Regions from separate parts of the Homo sapiens genome. Here region 2 is linked to region 1. Evidence: promoter capture Hi-C in 16 types of primary human blood cells and fetal thymus (Javierre and others, 2016). All regions are on one chromosome and are shown on one strand. The core of a region is centred on a gene start or on the middle of the fragment in contact, and the rest is flanking DNA. Distances in the headings are between cores, read along the strand shown.

Region 1 (3,385 bases), core at 647-3,146:
CGCTGACAATGGACACCTGTGTCTGATGTAAAATGCAAGCACTCACAGCCATAAAAGAGAATAAAATCGTGTCCTTTGCAGCAGGATGGATGTGGCTGGATGCCATTATCCTAAGCGAACTAATGCAGAAATAGAAAAGCAAACACCACATGTTCTCGCTTACAAGCAAAAGAGCTAAATATCGGGTTCACCTAGACATAAAGATAAAAACAATAGACACTGGGGACTTCAAAAGTGGGAGGGAGACAGCGGGGCGAGGGGTGAAAAACTTCCTATTGGGTACTATGCTCACCATCTGGGTGACAGGATCAATCCCAAACCTCAGTACCACACAATGTACAATTGTAACAAACCCGCACGTGTATCCCCTAAATTTAAAATAAAAATGGAAATTTTAAAAAATGCAAGCAGTAACACCAACTGCCCAGGAGTGCTGGGGGAATTGCATGGGATCCCCAATGTAAAGCACTAGCATAGTGTCTGAGCCCACAATGGGTGCACAGGACACATGGGGTTGCTGTCCCAAACCCAGTCCTCACTCAGAGCCAGTCATGGCCCTGTGAACAGCATTAATTAGGTCAGAGAGAATGATTCACACTCGAGTTCTGGAGAGCCCAGGGAAACTGTTATGTCACCCTGGTGCTATGTTTACTTCTCCTATCAGGAGTGATTAAATTCTTAGGATCTCATGCTCAGAGGTTGACAGTTATATTGAATTTTACCCACTTTTAAAAAACCTTTGGAAGCACCCGATTATTTGTCTCAGCTTTGATGAGGGCTGTGGAAGAGCAAATGTGTCATGACAAGTCACCAACCACAGGGAGCCTCAGAGCTGTCAAAGGATGGGCCATTCTCCAAAAATTCAAGCAAACGCAGAAACGGGAGGGCCCCTGGACTGGGTATCTTCAGTCCTGTCACTTTTTGCAGGTGGGGGTTCCAACATAAGTCATACAGCAGCCATACAAGCATTAGCACAGCCCCTCTAAGTCGAAGTTCAGGGACCCATGAGACTCAAATCCCAGGCTGATTTTGGTGCATATGGCCACCTGCACTTTCTAGAAGATCCATATCAGATTCTAAAATGGCCATGAGACCCTAAAAATATTAGGAAACGCACACTGAATGAAACTAAAATGATTTATGTTAGGGGTGGGAGAGAACAGGTCCAGAGGTCAGAGCTGGGAATCGTGAGGTAAAGCAGAAATTGCAAATGTTTTCCATCAACCCCATCCCCCACCTTGACACCCCCACACCCCAGAAACACTGAACTGTTCCCAGTTCCCCAAATGGCTTGTGGTTTTCTGTCCTCTCTGCCTCCGTGCTGGCAAATATTCGTCCAGGAGGCAGTGACTGGGAGAGAAAGACTAACTTCTTATTCACCAGATCGGATTTCTTAAACAATAAGGAGTTCTAAGAGGCCATGCCAAGCAAACGGCCAGACTGTACAAAGGTGCCCCTTGAGCAATAAATAGCAAATGCTCTGGGCTTTACTGATAAGCCTCCCCAGACTCCAAGCCCCACCAGGCATGCAGACAAGTGCCTGCAGTGATTGCAGCGCCTGCGCAGCGGCCCTTGTTGGAAGTCCAGGAGTCCGCGCTACCCCGCAAAGTCCCTGGCCGCTGCCCGCACACCGAACCTCTCGGGGCTGAGTCGGGCTGCTTTCTCCTCGCGTCCCGGGGCGCCCTCGGGAACTCGGGAGCGCGCGGCGAGCTGAACAATGGCCTGGGGACACCTGGCAGGTCGCAGGCCCCAAATCTTCCCCGCCGCCCCTAGGCCACCGCCCTGCACCCGGAACCTACCGGCGTTCCCAGAGCGGGGCGGACGGGGCGGTGCCATTGGCCGGTGCGGAGTGAGGGGCGTGCTCGGGGCGGGACGGAGAGACCGGGGCGGCACCTTTGGCCGTGCCGGGCGAGAGGCGGGGAGCGGGGCGGGGCGAGGGGCGAGGGGCGGGGCGAGGGGCGGGCCTGGCCCCGAGCAGCTGAAGCCTGGGGTCAGCAGGCGCTGCGGGCGCAGCTCCGGTGCAAGCGAGGACACGACACATGCAGTGGCTTCTGGACTGCGCGATGACTGGACGGTGAGTGATGAACGAGCAGGAGAGTGCTTGGGCGTCCATGGAGCATCCCCTCCGACCCAGGACTGCCACCAGGCAGGGACGCTGAAGCCTGGGCACTTGTGCCCTTCGGCCGCAGCGCGCAGGGTCCCTCCCCCGCCAGCCTGGCGCATTGCGGGCCTCGGGCTCATTGCTGAGAGGGGGCACTGCGCCTGGCACCTCTGTTAAGCAATTTAGGGGCTACAACCTGAGCAAGACAGATGAGCCCGGCCACTGGCTACACCTTTTTTGTTCACCTTGTCCTTAACCAGTTTCCTAGAAGCACTGATCCTAGAGTTGGGGAGAGAGCCTAGAGGCCTCTGGCACAACTCTGATTTCACTGATGGAAATCGAACGCCAAGATAATAGCAGCAGGGGGGGTCTGTCTCACAATCGCTGTCTGTAGAGGGCTCGCCTTGCTCTGGGCCAAGTGCTTTAACACGATATGCCTCTTACTCCTCACAGCAAGTGAGAGTCCTACTTTCGTTATCCCCTTTTCAGATGTGAAAACTGAGGCTTAAAGAGTTATAAAATTGTCCACCTTTACCGGATGAGTTGGTGATGGAGCCAGGATTTGAACCCAGGGCTTGTTGTGCCCCTGAGTCTCTTGCTCTTCACCCTTAGTCTCCGAAGGTCAGCCTGCCTGCTGCCCTGCTCTTCTGGGCTCCTGACTCCGGTCCCATCCTGCACTTCCCACTTCCAAAACATGCCTCAGTGTTTTCATTAACCTGGCACGGCGGAGGGAGGGAGGCCTCCTCTCACACCAGAATCAGTGCCCAGGCCAGGGCCAGCACTTTCTTAAAACACAGTAAGGACAGCTTCAGGAGCCCCATTTCACATAGGAATTAAATAAGGTCGCACAGCAAATAAGGGCTGGGCTTCTGGAATTTGAACCCAAGCAGGTTAGACTCCAAAGCTATGCTTTGCACTCACAGAGGAGCCCCTCGCTGGCTTTGCTGTAGTTTAACTGCCCACAGTACTAAGGTGTCAATCAGGATTTGTTGCCAGAAACCATTTTTTTTTAAGTTAGAAGTGAATTGGTGAAGTAACAGGTAAATGTAGACCATCCTGCCTTCTGTTCCTCTGTGTGGTTCCTTAGCTACTTCTGCCAGGACAGCAGGTTAGGGGAGAAGACAGGAAGGGAGAGGGTCAGAGGAGAAAGAGGAAGGGAGGGAAGAGGAGAGATGAAACTCATTAAACTTAGGTTAAAAAAATGCTGGCCGGAAATTGTCATGGGCTGTTTCAGCACTTTGTCAGTGTATGTGAAGGCTGTTGTCATTAGTTCTAGCCATAATT
Region 2 (3,385 bases), core at 605-3,104, 710 kb after region 1:
CATGCCATAAAATTCACTCATTTAAAGCCTAAAATTCACTGGTTTTTATGATGTACACAGAGTTGTGCAACAATCACCACATTTGCTTTAGAAAATTTTCATTACCTCTAAAAGGAACCCCATACCCTGTAACCAACACTCCCAAATTCCCCCAGTCCCCCACTCAACCCTAGGCAACCACTAATCTACTTTCTATCTCCAAATTGGTCTATTCTGGACATTTCACATAAATAGAATCATATATGATTTTTTTGTGACTGGCTTCTTTCACTTAGCATAATGTTTTCAAAGTTCATCATGTTCTAGGATATATCAGTATTTCACTCCTTTTTATTGCTGAATAATAGTCCCCTGTAGCAATATATCTCATGTTGTTTATCCATCCATCAGTTGATGAGCATTTGAGTCGTTTCCAATTTTGGGCTGTTACATATAGTGCTAAGATGAACATTCAACTGCAAGTTTTTGTGTAAACATATGTTTTCCTTTCTCTTTGAAGTAGCTTTGCTAGATAATGTGGTAACTCTTATGTTTGGCAATTTGTGGAACTACCAAACTGTTTTCTAAATGGTATGGATCATTTTATAGTCCCATCAACAATGAATGAGGGTGCCAATTTCTCCACACCCTTGACAATACTTGTTTCTGTCCTTTTGATTAAAGCTATCCTAGTGGGTGTGAAGTAGTATCTCACTGTGGTTGACTTCCATTTCTTTAAAAACTAATGATATTGTGCATCTTTTTTATGTGATTATTGGCCATTTGCATACATTCTTTGGAGAAATGCCTATTCATATACTTTGTCTATTTTTTAATTGGATTTTTTATTGAGTTGTATGAGTTTTTATATTACATATTCTAGATAAAAACACTTAACAGATATATGAATGGTAAATATTTTCTCTCATTTTGTGGGTTGTCTTTTGATAGTATCTTTTGAAACACAAAGGTTTTTAATTTTGTTAAACTCTAATTTGGCTATTTTTCTTTTATCATACTTAAAAAGCTTGGCTTAACCCAAGGTAATAAAGATTGACTTATATATGTTTCTAAAAATTGTAGTTTTAGCTCTTATGTTTAGGTGTACTGTCCAATTTCAATTTAGTTTTGTGTATGGTGTGAGGTAGAGTCTAACTTTATTCTTTTGCATGTGGATAACCAGTTGTTCCAGTATCATTTGTCAGAATTACCATTCATTCCCAATTGAATTGTCTTGGATCCTTGTTAAAAACCAATTTACTGTAAATGTGAAGGTTTATTTCCAGACTCTTTATTCTGTTGATCTACCTATGCCAGTACCACCACATCTTAATTAATGTAGCTTTGTAGTAAGTTCTGAAATCAGGAAGTGTGAGGCCTCCAATTTGTTCTTTTTAGATTGTTGGCTATTCTGGACTCCTTGAATTGCCATATGAATTTTAAGTATGCCCATTTTGCAAAAATGTCAGCTGGGATTTTGACAGGGATTGTATTAAGTCTGTAGATTTGGAGAGTACTGCAATCTTAATACTAAGTCTTCTAATCCATAAATACATACTATTTTTCAGTTTATATCTAATTTATTTCAATGTTTTATAATTTTTAAAGCACAAGTTTTGTTCTCTTTTATTAAATTTATTCCTAAGTATTTTATTCCTTTAAATGCTATTACAAATGGAATCACTGTCTTATTTACAGATTGCTCATTGCTGGTTTATAGAAACACAACCGATTTTAATATCTTGATCCTGTACACTGCAACTGTGCTGAACTGTTTATTTCGTTCATTTAGTTATTTAAATCTTCCTAAACGCTCTCTATAAAAGCTCTATATACAAGATCATGTCATTTACAAATAGAGTTTTACTTCTCCCTTTCTAATCTATATGCTCTTTTCTTTCTTTTTTTTTTTTTTTTTTTTTTTGGAGGGGGTGAAAGTCCCACTCTGTTGCCCGGGCTGAAGTGAAATGGCACGATCTCCGCTTATTGTAACCTCCGCCTCCCGAGTTCAAGCGATTCGCCTGTCTCAGCTTCCCAAATAGCTGGGATTACAGGCACCTGCCACCACACCAGGCAAATTTTTGTATTTTTAGTAGAGACAAGGTTTTACCAAGTTGGCCAGGCTGGTCTCGAACTGCTGACCTCAGGTGACCCACCCACCCTGGCCTCCCAAAGAGCTGGGATTACAGGCCTGAGCCACTGCACTGGGCTTATTTCCCTTTCTTGCCTAATTGCCCTGCTCTGGAACCTTCAGTACAAGATTGAATAAAAGTGGTGAGACTGGACATCCTTGTCTAATTCTTGATTGTAGAAGGAAACCATTGAGTCTTTAGGTATAATGTTAACCGTGGGGTTTTCATAGATTACCAATATAAGGTTGACGAGCTTCCCTTCTATTCCTGCTTTAGGTGGGTTTTCTTTTTAATCATGAAGGGGTGCCAATTTTATCAAACGCTTTTTTCATTGTCTATTGAAATAATCATTTGGTTTTCTTTACTTTTTTATTCACATATTACATTACTTTTTATGTGTCAAATCAATCTTGCATTACTGGGGTAAATCCCATTTGTACCTGGTATGTAATCCTTTACATATGTTGATGGATTTGATCTGAAAATATTTCCTCAGGATTTCTGTGTCTATAATCACAAGAGATGATGATCTGTAGTTTTCATTATGTCTGTCAGGATTTGGTATCAGGGTAATATTGGCCTTAGCCAAACTAAGCTTCGTAAGTGAAGGAGAAATAAAATCCTTTACAGACAAGCAAATGCTGAGAGATTTTGTCACCACCAGGCCTGCCTTACAAGAGCTCCTGAAGGAAACACTAAACATGGAAAGGAACAACCGGTACCAGCCACTGCAAAAACATGCCAAATGGTAAAGACCATTGATGCTGTGAAGAAACTGCAACAATTAATGGGCAAAATAACCAGCTAACATCATAAAGACAGGATCAAATTCACACATAACAATATTAGCCTTACATGTGAGTGGGCTAAATGCCCCAATTAAAAGACATTTTAATGTCTGGCAAATTCTTCTCAGCACCACATCGCACTTATTCCAAAGTTGACCACATAGCTGGAAGTAAAGCACTCCTTAGCAAATGTAAAACAACAGAAATCACAACAAACTGTCTCTCAGACCACAGTGCAATCAAATTATAACTCAGGATTAAGAAACTCACTCAAAACTGCACAACTACATGGAAACTGAACAACCTGCTCCTGAATGACTACTGGGTAAATAACGAAATGAAGGCAGAAATAAAGATGTTCTTTGAAACCAATGAGAACAAAGACACAACGCACCAGAATCTCTGGGACACATTTAAAGCAGTGTGTACAGGGAAATTTATAGCACTAAATGCCCACAAGAGAAAGCAGGAAAGATCTAAAATTGA

The links. Contacts are between HindIII fragments. The CHiCAGO score rates a contact against its expected background, and 5 or more counts as called.
Region 2: a fragment that was not itself captured here is called in contact with the fragment with the promoter of TMEM72-AS1 in region 1 in 1 of 17 cell types (neutrophils); the score reaches 5.2 in neutrophils.

What each region holds. Positions count from the first base shown.
Region 1 is chr10:44,957,793-44,961,177 of GRCh38, forward strand. It overlaps TMEM72-AS1 (TMEM72 antisense RNA 1), which reads right to left and starts at 1,897. Exons shown (of 8, transcript NR_033842.1): 1 at 1,800-1,897. It overlaps RASSF4 (Ras association domain family member 4), which reads left to right and starts at 2,010. Exons shown (of 11, transcript NM_032023.4): 1 at 2,010-2,074. RefSeq lists an enhancer at 1,689-1,983 and a silencer at 1,761-1,980. The HindIII fragment of the contact is 10,910 bases long and covers 1-3,385 here.
Region 2 is chr10:45,665,579-45,668,963 of GRCh38, forward strand. All of the region lies in intron 1 of ZFAND4 (zinc finger AN1-type containing 4), which reads right to left. Among named protein-coding and RNA genes, the nearest start is that of ZFAND4, 5.5 kb to the right of the region's middle. The HindIII fragment of the contact is 1,700 bases long and covers 1,005-2,704 here.